Linked DNA regions of Homo sapiens: all the other regions are linked to region 2. The links are contacts of gene promoters, found by promoter capture Hi-C in blood cells and fetal thymus (Javierre and others, 2016). All regions are on one chromosome and are shown on one strand. The core of a region is centred on a gene start or on the middle of the fragment in contact, and the rest is flanking DNA. Distances in the headings are between cores, read along the strand shown. Region 1 holds the start of FRAT2 (FRAT regulator of Wnt signaling pathway 2). Region 2 holds the start of MMS19 (MMS19 cytosolic iron-sulfur assembly component). Region 3 has its middle 11 kb from the start of ZFYVE27. Region 4 overlaps PI4K2A (phosphatidylinositol 4-kinase type 2 alpha). Region 5 overlaps ZFYVE27 (zinc finger FYVE-type containing 27).

Region 1 (2,700 bases), core at 168-2,667, 160 kb before region 2:
ACCAGCCACCGAATCGGTGGGAAAAAGGGGCAATGCCAAGCCACCCACCACCAAACTTTTACATTCTTCTCCCCTCTGGAATTTCTTTGCACAGCAATTGTAGCACCACTTACTAAGCTCCTCCACCAGAAAATAAGAAAATGTATGCGTGTCGTTAGTTTTCAAGTATTGTTATAAAGCCATCGCGATTCCTACCCCTGAGCCCTCCTTAAACAATCCAAGCTCACGACGCCCCCAAGGGCTAAGTGAGGTACAAGTCGATGCAAGTAGCTGCCATAGTTCTCCCAGTTTATCCCAGGTCCTTGGGCTTGGATGGCCCGGGAAATTCTCATGCCCCACGGAAGCACCCTGGCGCATACATTTCTCCACGCTTAAGTTTTCTCCGACGGCCTCGCCGCGGCTGGTAACTTCTCTGGTTGAGATCTCTCCCCACGCGCCTCCCCGCAGCCAAAGTGGTCGCTCCCAGGCTGGCGACGTCGGCTTCAGCTCAGAGTTAGTAGGAACTGGACGCTGTTGGGTCTACGCAGCGGCCTCCACTTCCTCCTCCAGGAGGCCTGCGTCAGAGCAAGGAGCCTGAGGGCTGCAGGGCAATGCGGTCAGGTCCGCTGCGGCCTCCCCCGGGCCCAGGGGCGCTTGCGGGGCCCGTGGCTGCAACCGCGGCGACGGCTCGTTGGAGTCTCCGCACGGCTTCCTTGATGAGGTTTCCCGAGAGCACGAGCTGCTGGAGGAGCCGATGCGGGTCGTCGTCGCCGGCGCGTGCCCCGGCTTGGGTCCATCGGCGCTGCTGCAAGCGGCGGGAGGTGACCGCGTCCCTGAGCCATCCTCGCCGGCACGGCCCCGGCAGCGCGCTGGGGCCTGCGGCGACCTCCGCCACGCAGTAGGGCGCAGCGCGTCCGCGCACGCGGCCGCGGTCCCCTAGGGCGCAGCGCAGGGCCCCAGAGGGCGCCGGGCCCACCGTCTCAGCCGAAGCGGGCGGCAGCAGCAGCGGCACCGCCGGGGGCCGGGCCTTGTCCGCCGGCACCGCCGCAGCCAGGGGCCCCGGGGCCCGCAGCGGCACCCCCGGGGGCGCGCACGGCGAGGCCGGGCTGTCCTGCGCCGCGTCCAGCTGCAGCGTCTCGCCGATCTGGGCCACCAGCCGGTCCACCTCGCCCGAGCTGCCCAGCGTCACCGACTGCTGCAGCAGGAGGAAGCTGTCGTCCTCCTCTTCCTCCCCCTCCGCCTCCTCGCCGGCTTCCTCTTCCTCCTCCCTCCGGCACGGCATGGCCCCCCGTCCTGGCACCCGGAGCTGTGCGGGCTTCGCTGGGGGCTTGGTTGCCCGCGGGCGCGGAGCTGCGGGCGAAGCCGGAGCAGGGGCGGACGCGGAAGCCGGAGCCCGCCAGGCACTCGAGCCACGCGCCTGCAGCCGCTGGAGCCGGAATCCTGCCGGCTCGGGTTGATTTGTAAACAATGGGTGACGTCGCGCCGGGCCCTACCACCGCACCGGGGCGGGGGTGACGCGCGAGCAGGCACGGGGGCAAAGGGCGGCGCGGGCGGTGACCGAAGCCGTCCCGCGCCTGTGTTCGTTGTCCCTCCAGGAGGGGGTCCGGGGCGTGGGGACTGATTTCCGACCTCCCGGGCCCAACGAGCCGTGCTGAAACGTGGCGCCTCGGAGGAGGCTGAGGTTGGTTTCTCCCACGCACGGACACACCCACACCCACTCCGGGCCCGCCTCCTGGGCCGCGGCCTCCCTCCCCACGTGTCGGCCGCGCCTAAGCCCGCCCGACTCCCGCCCCGCGCACCCGCAGTTCCCGGCCCTGGTCGTGGGGGAGGGGCGGGCCGCCGCGGGTCCGGCTTCGACGAGGCGGGGCGGGGAAAGGCGGAGGGAATTGGGAGTGAAGAGGCGGCACGTTACTTATTTACTTATTTATTATTTAGAAAAGGTCTCTGTCGCCCAGGCTGAAGTATAGTGGCGCGAACACGGCTGACTGCAGCCTCGAACTCTGGCTTAAGTAATCATCCCACTTTAAGCCTCCGGAGCAGCTGGGACCACAGGCGCGGCCACCACGCCTGGCTAATTAAAAAAATTTTTTTTGTAGAGACGGTGGTGGGGGGGGGGGGTCTCACTATATTGCCCAGGCTGGTCTCGAACTCTTGGGCTCAAGGAGTCCTCGCTCCTCGGCCTCCGAAAGTGTTGGGGTTACTGGCGTCAGCCGCCGCGCCCGGCCTAAGAGGGGACGCTTTGAAGCAGAGCAGAATCGCTCTGAGGTGAGGTCCCAGAGGCTTTCCCTCCCGCAGTCTTCAAGCCCCCGGACATATCATGAGAATAGGACTCACCGCCGCTCGGCTAAAGAAGGGTCTTTTTTTTTTTTTAAGGTTCAAATAGAAATATAGGGGATTGGCCAGGAGCGGTGGGTGGCTCATGCCTGTGATCCCAACACTTTGGGAGGCCGAGGCGGGCGGATCACCTGAGGTCAGGAGTTCCAGACCAGTCTGGCCAACATGGTGAAACCCCATCTCTGCTAAAAATACAAAAATTAGCCGGGCGTGGTGGCGGGCGCCTGTAATCCCAGCTACTCGGGAGACTGAGGCAGGAGAATGGTTTGAACCCTGGAGGCGGAGGTTGCAGTGAGCCGAGATCACGCCACTGCACTCCAGCCTGGGCAACAAAGCGAGACTCCGTCTCAAAAAAAAAAAGAAAAATATAAGGGATGGAAAAAATCT
Region 2 (2,700 bases), core at 61-2,560:
TGCTCCTTGATGCTTCCAAACTACGCTGCACACACCTCTTACAGAATGGTTGCCTCTCCCAGCATACTATAAGTTCCTGGTGGGCACAGATCTAACCTAATTTGTATTTATATTCCTATTGCTTTGCATCATGTTTGGGGAATAATATGTATTCAACAATAGTGGCATGATTGAATTAAAGTGGAATACTGCTAACGAACAAAGTATTATATTTCTAGCAGATTCACTATTCTTTTCTTACATATTCTAAAGGTTAATACGCTCAATATCCAAGAGAAATGTGTCCTTACTTCTCTCCAAGCATACGAAATTTCCAAAGTTTTTTTAAAAAAACTACTCATTAGATAATTTTATATTGTTACTTAAACCCAAGATCTGAAGGCCTCCTAACATTCAATAACTTTTTAGTAGTTTTTTTTTTTTCCTAGAAGAGCAAAGTCTCAGAACTCCACGGAAGCCTGGAAATCGTTTTATTCTAATTTTAGATAAGCTGTCTGAACTAAGAGATCTCTGAACTGGTCAAAAGCAGGAAAGTGGGGGTCTGGGAAGAAGACAAAAACAAACGCCACATAAAACGTCATGGAGCAAACTAATCAAGAACTTTAGCAAGAAACGGAGAGAAAGTCTTAAGGAGGACACCCAGAACATCTCCAGCTCCTCCTGGCCCGTCTCCTCAACTCCTCTTAATTCCAGCCAGTCAGAGCGCGGGGCCATCTGCCACTCCCAGGATGCCACGCGACGGGAGCGGACGCTGCGAGGATGCACCTCCACACGTCAACCTCCCACAAACAGCATGGCTTCGTGGCGTGAGCACCCGGTTCGGACCTGAACGCCTGGGTCCGAGTCCCACCTCCCCCTCCTGCCTGGTCTGCAGCCCTGCGCAAGTCCTCTTGCCCTCGCTGAGCCTCAGTTTCCTCATCTGTAAAATGTAATGATTCCCTATAATTGGCTACAGGGAGATGAGAAGTGTAAATGGTTTTAAGGAAGACACAGGCAACTCTCTAACTTGTTACGGCTCTGAACCTCGCGGTGCTCACTAACCAGCCTTGAGACCAATCTCTCAAAGTCACCCCGCTCCTCCCTTCCCGCCCGGCGCCTGTACTGAGGCCGCTCCCTCCTGTTGGCCCCCATGCGGAAGGCGCGCGGCGCCGTCTGCCGTACCTGCAGCCACCTGGTCAGCGGGGCCCTCTTGCTGACCCACGACGAAGTCGTGCACGAGGCCCCATAGGGCACCCATAGGCGCCGCCGCCTCCACAGCCGCGGCAGCGGCCATAACGCGAACTAGAGACCGTGGGAGGGGATATGGGCGGTGGCTCGAGACGGGCTCTCCGCGCATGCGCCTCCCGAGCCAATCTCCGGGGAAGCGCAAGGGGGCGGGGCGCCGGGGTCACGTGCCTGCCGGCTTCTGCCTAGGCAGTTCCAGGGAGGGGCGGGGCCTGAAATGGGGCGGTGGCACCGAGAGGGAAGGCGGCTGCTGGGCACGCAGCCGGAGGCGATTGAGGGCGAATAATTCCCAGCCCGGCTCCCCGGGAGACGGGCTGCGGGGCGGGCACCTGGCTGGGTGGGGAGAGGGGCGGTACGCACCACGGGGGAAGCCAATGAGAAAATCAGGCCCAGCCCTAGGGGGCGGTGCTGTCGGTCACATGCGCACCTGGGGCGGGTGGTGGCGGCGGCGCGGGCACCGCGAGCCGGCGGAAGGGAGAGGGGCCGGCCTGGGGCGGGGTTAGGCAGGTGAGTGACAGGCTCCAGGGGGCCGGCCCCTGCCTGGTGCCCCGAGCGAGCCGGGAGTAGCTGCGGCGGTGCCCGCCCCCTCTCTCCGCCCCTCCAGCGGAGCTGGTCTCCGGCCGGGCACCGTCGCGGGCCCCCCTGGCCCGGCCACCTGGGACCGTGCTGGGGAGTCTGCCACTTCCCTCTCTCCCCTGGCCCGCAAAGTTTTGGCGGAGCCATCGCTGGGGCTGAGCGCGCCCCCGGGGGGAGATCGGGGAGCGCCCGATGCCGGGCGGCCGGAGCCATTGACCCGGGACGCCGCCGTCCGCTGAGCAGCCGACCACCCCGCCGCCTCCGGTGCATGGGGACTGGCTGAGGAGCCAGCATGGGCAACTGCGTGGGGAGACAGCGCCGGGAGAGGCCGGCAGCCCCGGGACACCCCCGCAAGCGAGCAGGTAACGATGGGGAAGGGAGCAGGGCCTCGGGCATCCCGCCAGTTGTCCCCCTCCTCGCCCGAGTCCTGGGCTTACCGATGGACTCCCCACTGGTGCTGGCGCTTGGGTTTCCCCGATGGGCTGCTCCGCAGCCAGAGGGGGCCGCTCCCCAGCGCCGGGCGGCCGGGGGAGCTGAGTTGGGGCAACTGCGAGCACTGAGCCGGCTGCGCGACCAACTCTCTCCAACTGGGTAGCTCCTGGTGGGGGTGGGGGCAGGAAATGTTTGCAGACCGCAGCGGGGCCGACGGATCGGGAGGAGGCCGGGGGCGAGGGCGCCGCTGGCCTGGCAGCTCCGGCCGGGGTCGGACGCCGGCCCGTCGGGGCACGGCGCGGGCAGCCAGGCGTCCCCAGAACTCGGAGCGAGCGAGGCGAGAACAGTCGCTCCTTCCAAAGACTGTGTCATTATCGAGCTGCAGATCGTGTCTGCGGGAATCCGACTTGCAAAGCAGCGCAGGACTCTGGGAAAGAAATCTTTATTTTTCCCGCAGGGGTTTTTAGA
Region 3 (2,700 bases), core at 49-2,548, 230 kb after region 2:
TTCTGTCTCCTTTTGTGTCTCCCAGGCAGTTAGCATGACTCGTTCTAATTTTTGGGTGAGCTCAGGCTGTGATGTCAGAGGTGAGCTCTATCTCTTATTAGTTGTCCAGTCTTAGGCAATTTATGAAACCTCTTTGCCTCTTAGCTTCCTCACTTAGTAAATGGGGATAATATTAGTACCTACCTCACTGGGCTGTTGAAAGAGCTTCATGAGATGAGGCGTGCCTGGCAATTTCATCAGTGCAATTCAGCCCTCAGCAGTATATGTTTGTTGGGAGGATTTCATAAGATATACATAAAATGCTGGGCTCAACGCCTGACCCACAGTCATAGTTAGTGCTCATAAATGTGAACTCCCTCCTGCCCCATTCCACTCTGGGTCTCCCTGCACCTAAGGAATGATAATCTCACCAGCCTTGGCTAATCCTTCTTTCTCATTGGTGTCTACTGTTCTTTCTTGAATTCTTTCTTGTGTGTGTGTGTGTGTGTGTTTTTTTTTTTTTTTTTGAGACGGAGTTTCACTCTTGTCACCCAGGCTGGAGTGCAATGGAGTGATCTCAGCTTACTGCCACTATGGAGGCTGAGGCAGGAGGCTCACTTGAGCCCAGGAGTTTGAGGTTGCAGTGAGCTATGATTATGCCACTGCACTCCAGCAAGACCCTGTCTCAAAAAAAAAAAAAAAGAGAAAGAAAACATATTCATAATGTCCAAAAGCTTCCCTGTGCTCTTTGTACTCCCTCTTCTTTCCTTCCCATCTCCCCCACACCAGGGAACCATTGATCTGCTTTCTATGATTATAGAATTCTAGAATTTTATATAAATGAAATGTATAGTATGTGCTCCTTTTGGGAGAGGGCGGTATCTGGCTTCTTTCACTCAGCTTAATTATTTTGAGATTCATTCATGATGTTGCAGTAACAGTAGTTCATTTTCATTGCTGAGTGAATATACAGATACACTATAATTTGTTTAGCCTGTTGATGGACATTTGTGTTGTTTCAAATTTTTGGTTATTGCAAATATAGCTGCTTTGAACGTTCATGTACACGTCTTTGTGTGGACACATATGCTTTAATTTATTTTGGGTAGACAGCTAGCAGTGGAATGGCTCATTTGTGTGGTAGGCTTATTGTTTTTATTATTTTAAAATTGTCTATACCCCAGATGAAATCTGGTGTGTGTGTGTGTGTGTGTGTGTGTGTGTGTGTGTGTGTGTGTTCTTGCTTGGGATTTGTAACAGAGGGGGTGATTCTGGACTCACAGACTAAATTAGGAAGTTTTTCATACTGTTCTATGCTCTGGAATAGTTTAACTATATCATTTTAAAAAATGGGTTCTAGCTGGCACGGTGGCTCATGCCTGTAATCCCAGCACTTTGGGAGGCCAAGGGGGGCAAATCACCTGAGGTCAGCAGTTCGAGACTAGCCTGGTCAACAAGTGTTCAATAAATACATCTTTATGTATTTATTTACTAGACCATTAAGTTTAGTAGAGACCAACCCTACCTCTCCAAAAAAGCAGAAAAATTAGCTGGTTGTGATGGCAGGTGCCTGTAGTCCCAGCTACTCGGGAGGCTGAGGCAGGAGAACTGCTTGAACCCAGGAGGCAGAGGTTGCAGTGAGCCGAGATCGCGCTGTACTCCAGCCTGGGCAACAGAGAGAGACAGACTCCGCCTCAGAAAAAAAAAAATGGGTTCGATAAAATTTGTCTATGAAATAAATCTGGGCCTGATGCCTTTTGGGTTTTACATTTTTATTTCTTTTTATTTTTAATTCTTTCAAGTTTGTAAATGATAGTTGGTGTATTCAGGTTTTTTGGTGGGTCACGTACTGCTCTCCCATTGGTGGTATACTTATTCAGGGTGTCTGTCTGTCCCACTAGGCTGTAAGCTTTTCAGGAAAGAATTCCAGGCTCTTCATCTCTATAATCCCATGAAAGGCACATGATACGTAGTCATTTGGTGGAATGAATAAATGCTGATGGCTAGCTGCTATAACAAATACACCTCAGCATTTCAGCAGTTTCATATAATGAAAATCTATTTGTTATTCATATACAAATCTATTTCTTCCTCACATAATTGTGCACTGTGGCTACTCTGGGGCAGAGGGAGACGCTCCACCATACGGTGACTCAAGGACCCAGGCTCCTTCCACCCCGTGGCTCGGCCATCTGCTCTGCACTGAGCTCGCAGGTGAGGGAGGAGAGGCAGGAGAAGGTTTCCTGCTTCCTGCATACCTTCATCTAGAAGTAACAGTCAGCGCTCCCACTCACCTCCTTGGGAGTAACAGGACCTGACCTATAAGCAGAGGATGCTGGGAAATGTAGTCCCTAGCCAGGCAGCTGCTGCGTAGCAACAACTCTATATCATGGTAGGGGGCACAGGACTTTTTGGTGGACAGTTAATCGTCGCTTTCAAGGGAGGCACAAGGTTTTATTGCTGAAGTTTTCATTGCCTTGCTCTGTGAACTCTTTTAGTGCCAGTGTTTGATGAATGGTTGTTTTCATGGCTGCCAAGAGCTGTTGAGTAAGAATGTAACTGCAGACAGTCATTTCCTTGCTGTGTTTGTCCAACAACCACTGTCTCACAGCTGGAAAACTCATTACTCATGAGTACTTCTTTCCCAGGTACAAGAACATAAAGATGTATTTATTGAACACTTTTTAGGGCAATGACACTGAACTGTTAATCCAAAAATAT
Region 4 (2,700 bases), core at 171-2,670, 160 kb after region 2:
ACCAGCTGAGTCAGTAAATGAATATGAAATCATGAGAAACAATACCAAAGTTCTTCCAACTTTAGGTCTAGCGAGAAAATGTTTGACCAGGCTTCTAGTTCCCATTTCACATCTAATTCACTGCCTGGCTTTGTACAGCTCATTCCTTCTCTTTATGCCTTACTTTTCCCTCTCTGTGCAGATAGTTTTACAGCATGCTTTGAACATCTTGTATGATAATTAATGTTCTTAAGTCTCCTAACCTGAAATGCTTCTACTAGGCTCCTCTTAGACTCTAGAAACTTTTACATTCTCCTTGCTTATCACTCTATAGTTTTCTTCCTTTACTAGGCAAATAGCAGACCGTGTCTGGCTCTATGCCTACCTGCTCTGTTGGTGCTTCTGGAGTGTGGTGCCCAAGAATCAGAGGACTTGAGTTTGAATTCTTGCTCTGCAGTTTTTGATTTGTGTAACACTTGGGCAAGTCATGTAACCTCCCTAGGCTCAGTTTCCTTACTGTAAAAATAGGGATATAAATAGTTCCTACTTTGTAGAGTGGCCATCAATATTACACAAGACAGCCTATATGAAGCACATAGCTGAGTGAGTGCCAGGCACAACGTAAACCCTCCATATGTTAGCCTGTGATATTTTTATCAGCTATTCTAATCGTTAGTGTCACCCCCACAATCCCTTTCGTCCCTATCTTTGGTCTTCCTCTTTCCCTGTTAGAGAACCTTCACGAGGCCTGAGGATCTTTTGCATCAGAAAGTCAGCAACAACAAAAATACTTGTCTTGGCTGGGCTCATTGGCTCACGCCTGTAATCCCAGCACTTTGGGAGGCCTAAGTGGGTGGATCACCTCAGGTCAGGAGTTCGAGACCAGCCTGGCCAACAGGGTGAAACCCTGTCTCTACTAAAAATACAAAACTTAGCTGAGCATGGTGGTGCGTGCCTGTAATCCCAGCTACTTGGGAGGCTGAGGCAGGAGAATCGCTTGAACCTGGAAGGCAGAGGTTGCAGTGAGCTGAGATTGTGCCACCACACTCTATCCTGGGCAACAGAGCGAGACTCCGTCTCAAAAAAAAAAAATACTTGTCTTCCATGAGACTGAGATGAGACAGAACTTTGGAAGCTTAACATATAGCTGCTGGAGAATAGTAAGAGGACTCCTCTCCCTGTCTCCCCAACTCTTGTGACAGGACTCTATCCAGTTGATCAGAGCATCTGTCATTATAGAAACAAGGTTCACATTGCATTGGAACTTCAAATGGTAAGGCTCTAATTCTCACTCACTGGCTGTCTCTGCTCTCTGCTCCTATGAGGTTTCAGGTTATGATAGTTTCATTAGTCATGGGGAAAAAGTGGTTTGTTAGGAAGAATGATAGAAAATAAATATGATGGGGGCAAAAGGGGATTTATGGCTTGAGAGAGCCAGGAGTTTCACTGTGGACACTGGCAAGGTAGCCTTAGGAAAGCTCTTTTTCCTTCATTCCTATGCCTGAGTTTTCTGATTTGTAAGGCAGGGAGTGCCTACTACAGTACCATGCACATCCATTTTAGGTAGTCTATTAATACTAGATGGTAGCATGGAGCGATAGATGAGAGGCAGTTATTTTGCCTCTCAGGTTCATGGGAAAAAAAATAGTTATTTGTAATAAATTTTACAAGGCTTAGGAAAATACCTTTCTTATAAGTTTGATTTTAGGTATTTATATGCTAAAACTCACTTGTTGCTGTCTCTGAAAGAAGCTTGTAACTCATTCTTCATTCACTTAATAAATATTTAATGAGCATATGCCAGCTACTGTGTTAGGTGCTGTGGATGCTAATATAAATAAGATGTTCTCCGCTTCCTCAAATCTCATTCATTTTAAAGGAGGAGTTAGATATACAAATGGATAATTACAAGACAATGTGATAAGTGTGACAATAGATGCATATGTGGATTACAATTACGTCACTGCAATTTGACTTAAGTATAATATTGATGGCTCATAAAAATTTTTTTTAGAATAAGTAATGCATGCATCTAGTATAAAAATCAGAAGGCACATAGGGTAAACAGAGAAAAGTAATTCAGACTCCCTGCTACCCCTATCTCCTGGCCATTCAGTTTCCTTCCTCAGAGGCAGCCAGGATTACAGTGTATAGCCTATACATAAAAATAGCAGTTAATTAAAATGAAAACCAATTTTAATGTTTGTGTTTTGAATACGAATAATTTCACAAAGTAAAAAAATTCAAAAGGGCCCGGGCACAGTGGCTCATGCCTGTAATCCCAGCACTTTGGGAGGCCGAGGTAGGAGGATCACCTGAGGTCAGGAGATCAAGACCAGCCTGGCCAACATGGTGAAACCCTCTCTCTACTAAAAATACAAAAATTAGCCAGGAGTGGTGGCACACACCTGTAATCCCAGCTACTTGGGAGGCTGAGGCATGAGAATTGCTTGAATGCGGGACTTGGAGGTTGCAGTGAGCCGAGACTGTGCCACTGCACTCCAGCCTGGGCAACAGAGTGAGACTCTGTCTCAAAAAAAAAAAAAAAAAAAAATTTTTTTTCAAAAGGAAATGAAGGGGTACAGAGTAAATTGCAACTTGTTTGTCTCTGGAAAGAAGATGGGCATTTGGCCTAATCTAACCCAGGAGATGACAGTGTTAATCCTTGTACTTCATACTAGCTGCTGTAACAACCCTTAAATCTAAGTGGTTTAATACAAT
Region 5 (2,700 bases), core at 197-2,696, 250 kb after region 2:
ATGCTTGCCAGCAATTTACCTGTTTATTTTTCTGATGTTTGTCTCTCTCCTAGTGGCTCACCTATATATTGACACTGCCTTTAGAATTTGGGTGTCGTGGCTTCATTGTTGCATCTGTGCTCCTCTTTCCCTACTAAATGTCCTTTATCAGGGACGGAGCCAGCAGCATTTGCTTGTTCTCAGCAATCTGAGTCTCTGGTCTTCCTTGTTCCCTGTTTGGGGGCTTCTGCATTGCCATTTGGTGGTGGTGGTGGTGGTGGCAGTGATGTATCTGTGTTTGCTTCTGTCTGTTCCAGCTCACTTAAGGTGTGATTGCTAAGTGAATGCTGCACCCTACTTTCATCTTGATTTTTAATATATTAAAATAAAATCTTTACTATTGTTTCTCTTTTTGAATTAATAGGTATTCAAAATAAACTCTCAGATAAACTCTCAAATTTTCAAAAACATGGACATAAGAAGATAAAGGCACAAATGGGGCCAAAGAAGTCCACAATTTGTTTTTTCTTGATTTCTGTATTAGTTGAATCTTGTGCAATGATTATATATTCTTATGAAATTATAAAAAAAGAATAGAGGAAAATATTAAGAACATTTGTCAGTGTCACCTCTTAAGGAGAATACAACCTTACAAAACACAGGTTAAATGGTATTAACTGGGTTTCTTAACTGATATTTTATAAATTCTTCTTCCTTTTGGGAGAAAGCACTACAGACCTACCAGTTTCCTCACCCCAGGTGCTAATGTGTGACATCTTACCGCCTCTCCTGGTCACCAGTCCAAGTGAGAGGCCCCCTTTTCGTTTCTCCTTGACCTTCTGTGTTCCAGGCCTCCTCTTCTGGTTTGATGTCCCGTCTGTGCTGCCTGGTCTCCCCTCCCCAGCTGGAGGAGTGACTCTCTGTAGTGATCAGGACTCTCTGTATTGTAGGTGGCAGATGCCTTTGTGTTCCTTGCTGACCTGCCTGGGCCTCAACGTCTTGTTCCTCACTTTGAATGAGGGTAAGAACTGCCTTCAGGGGCCAGTGGTTTTTGTGAACGAATGTGGGGGAAGAACACCTGGATGCAGCCCCACCCTATGTGTGGGAGCTGCTCTTGTTGCCCTGGAGTTAGTGTTCCTCTGTGTCTGCTTGGAGTCAGAAACAGCCTCCAGAGGGACGATCCAGGCTGAGCTGCCTGCTGTGACCTTGGGCAGATTATTGAACTTCCCTGTTAAGGCCTAATTTTCCTTACCTCTAGAGGGAGGATAAAAATGACGCTTTCCTCCTAGAGTATTTGTGAGGAATGCGGCAGTCTAGGCATAATACTTAGCACAGTGCCTGGCGTGGAAGAGGCAGCCAGTGCATTGTAGCTGCTCTCAGTATTATCGTTGTTTCCTTCTTGACTTCCTGCTGAGGATGCATTGACCTTTTTCCATTTTGGTTTTTAAGCTGATTCAAGGGTCATCTGGGGACATGGCATGAGTAAAGGTACTGGGATGAGGAGCTGATAAGGGATTTTTGCCATATCTGTTGCTTTTCTCTGGTTCAGCTAGTGAGCCTAACGGGAGCTGCTGGGCAGTCACCAGCAGTGAGGAGTGGCATGAAGCCTTTGAGATAGAAGTGTGGACACATGGGTGTCTGTTGGGGTCATGGGTAATGTCTTCTATGAACCTCTTACTACAGTGCATACCGTGACCCTACCCTATCCGTGGTTGGCGCTGGCAGATGGCCACATAAAAAGCCAAACCCCTCAGGGTGAGAATAAAGAGTCTGGGACAGAATGTTTGGAGGAGCTGGGCCATTATTCATGTTTTTGTTCTTTTACTTACCTTGTATTTCTCAGGTGTCTTCTTTGTTTCCTCTGGAGATAGGGATTGAGTAGGTTGAAAATAAATCCAGTTCATATAAGATCTCATTTTCTGTTTCTTAGTTGGACTCATCTTTACCTGTTCAAAACTTCCTAGGATGTTTGATTTTTCTATATATGCTCCCAAAGTAAGTCAGTTCCTATGACAGATGTTTAGTAAGCATTTATTATGGGCCCGCTGCTCTGTTAGCTTGTTGTTGGGGTGCCATGTTACATGGAAGAAGTTCTTTCTTTGAATTTTATCTCGGCTTCGCCATTTCTCAAGGCACAATCGTCTGCAGTGTCCTAAAAGCTGAACGAAAGGCTTCTAGCTTCCTTAGTGGCCCAGAGGTCCGAGTGTCAGGCATCAGGAGCTCCTGGCAGTCACACTCCAGCGTGAGCCTCCTCTGTGCTAGCAGCATCTTAAAACGTATTAAAAGTGAGGATGGGGCCACAGCAGTGACCAAAGGGACAAAGTCCCAGCCCTCAAGAGCTTACTTCATTAGAGGAGACAACAGACATGCCTGCAATGTGTCATGTGGTGATAAGGTCTATGAGGAATGAAGCTGGGTTAAGGGGGCTGGAGAGTAGGGGTGAGACACTGTGTCGTACAGAGCTATCAGGGAAGGCCTGACTGGCAGAGCCCTGGAGGAGGTGAGGAACAAGCAGTGGGCGTCTGGGTGGGCCGACTCCTGGTCTTTGCTTACCTGTGTTACCTGCAGTGTTTTTGATTCTGCAGGTGCATGGTACTCAGTAGGTGCCCTGATGATTTCAGTGCCCGCCCTGCTGGGCTACCTTCAGGAGGTTTGCCGGGCACGGCTGCCTGATTCCGAGCTGATGCGGAGGAAGTATCATAGCGTGAGGCAGGAGGACCT

What was found. The method cuts DNA at HindIII sites, captures the fragments that hold promoters and counts their contacts. A CHiCAGO score of 5 or more calls a contact.
Region 1: a contact is called between the fragment with the promoter of FRAT2 here and the fragment with the promoter of MMS19 in region 2, in 6 of 17 cell types (neutrophils, activated CD4 T cells, monocytes and 3 more). The highest score is 22.4, in neutrophils.
Region 3: a contact is called between a fragment that was not itself captured here and the fragment with the promoter of MMS19 in region 2, in 3 of 17 cell types (M0 macrophages, M2 macrophages and M1 macrophages). The highest score is 6.6, in M0 macrophages.
Region 4: a fragment that was not itself captured here is called in contact with the fragment with the promoter of MMS19 in region 2 in 7 of 17 cell types (M0 macrophages, M2 macrophages, M1 macrophages and 4 more); the score reaches 12.2 in M0 macrophages.
Region 5: a fragment that was not itself captured here is called in contact with the fragment with the promoter of MMS19 in region 2 in 1 of 17 cell types (neutrophils); the score reaches 6.5 in neutrophils.

What each region holds. Positions count from the first base shown.
Region 1 is chr10:97,333,312-97,336,011 of GRCh38, forward strand. FRAT2 (FRAT regulator of Wnt signaling pathway 2) reads right to left here and starts at 1,418. Exons shown (of 1, transcript NM_012083.3): 1 at 1-1,418. The coding sequence starts at 1,261. The coding sequence ends at 560. LOC105378448 (a long non-coding RNA gene) reads left to right here and starts at 1,535. Exons shown (of 2, transcript NR_188201.1): 1 at 1,535-1,660. RefSeq lists an enhancer at 129-1,036 and silencers at 587-636, 647-776, 1,117-1,266, 1,357-1,506, 1,637-1,986. The HindIII fragment of the contact is 20,442 bases long and covers 1-2,700 here.
Region 2 is chr10:97,497,112-97,499,811 of GRCh38, forward strand. It overlaps MMS19 (MMS19 cytosolic iron-sulfur assembly component), which reads right to left and starts at 1,311. Exons shown (of 31, transcript NM_022362.5): 1 at 1,162-1,311. The coding sequence starts at 1,273. It overlaps UBTD1 (ubiquitin domain containing 1), which reads left to right and starts at 1,813. Exons shown (of 3, transcript NM_024954.5): 1 at 1,813-2,162. The coding sequence starts at 2,093. RefSeq lists enhancers at 436-966, 643-692, 1,053-1,222 and silencers at 1,463-2,222, 2,233-2,432. The HindIII fragment of the contact is 10,400 bases long and covers 1-2,700 here.
Region 3 is chr10:97,724,519-97,727,218 of GRCh38, forward strand. No RefSeq gene overlaps it. Among named protein-coding and RNA genes, the nearest start is that of ZFYVE27, 11 kb to the right of the region's middle. The HindIII fragment of the contact is 1,175 bases long and covers 712-1,886 here.
Region 4 is chr10:97,652,858-97,655,557 of GRCh38, forward strand. All of the region lies in intron 2 of PI4K2A (phosphatidylinositol 4-kinase type 2 alpha), which reads left to right. Among named protein-coding and RNA genes, the nearest start is that of PI4K2A, 14 kb to the left of the region's middle. The HindIII fragment of the contact is 617 bases long and covers 1,113-1,729 here.
Region 5 is chr10:97,742,165-97,744,864 of GRCh38, forward strand. It overlaps ZFYVE27 (zinc finger FYVE-type containing 27), which reads left to right. Exons shown (of 13, transcript NM_001385875.1): 3 at 930-1,000; 4 at 2,565-2,700. Among named protein-coding and RNA genes, the nearest start is that of ZFYVE27, 6.4 kb to the left of the region's middle. The HindIII fragment of the contact is 7,063 bases long and covers 1-2,700 here.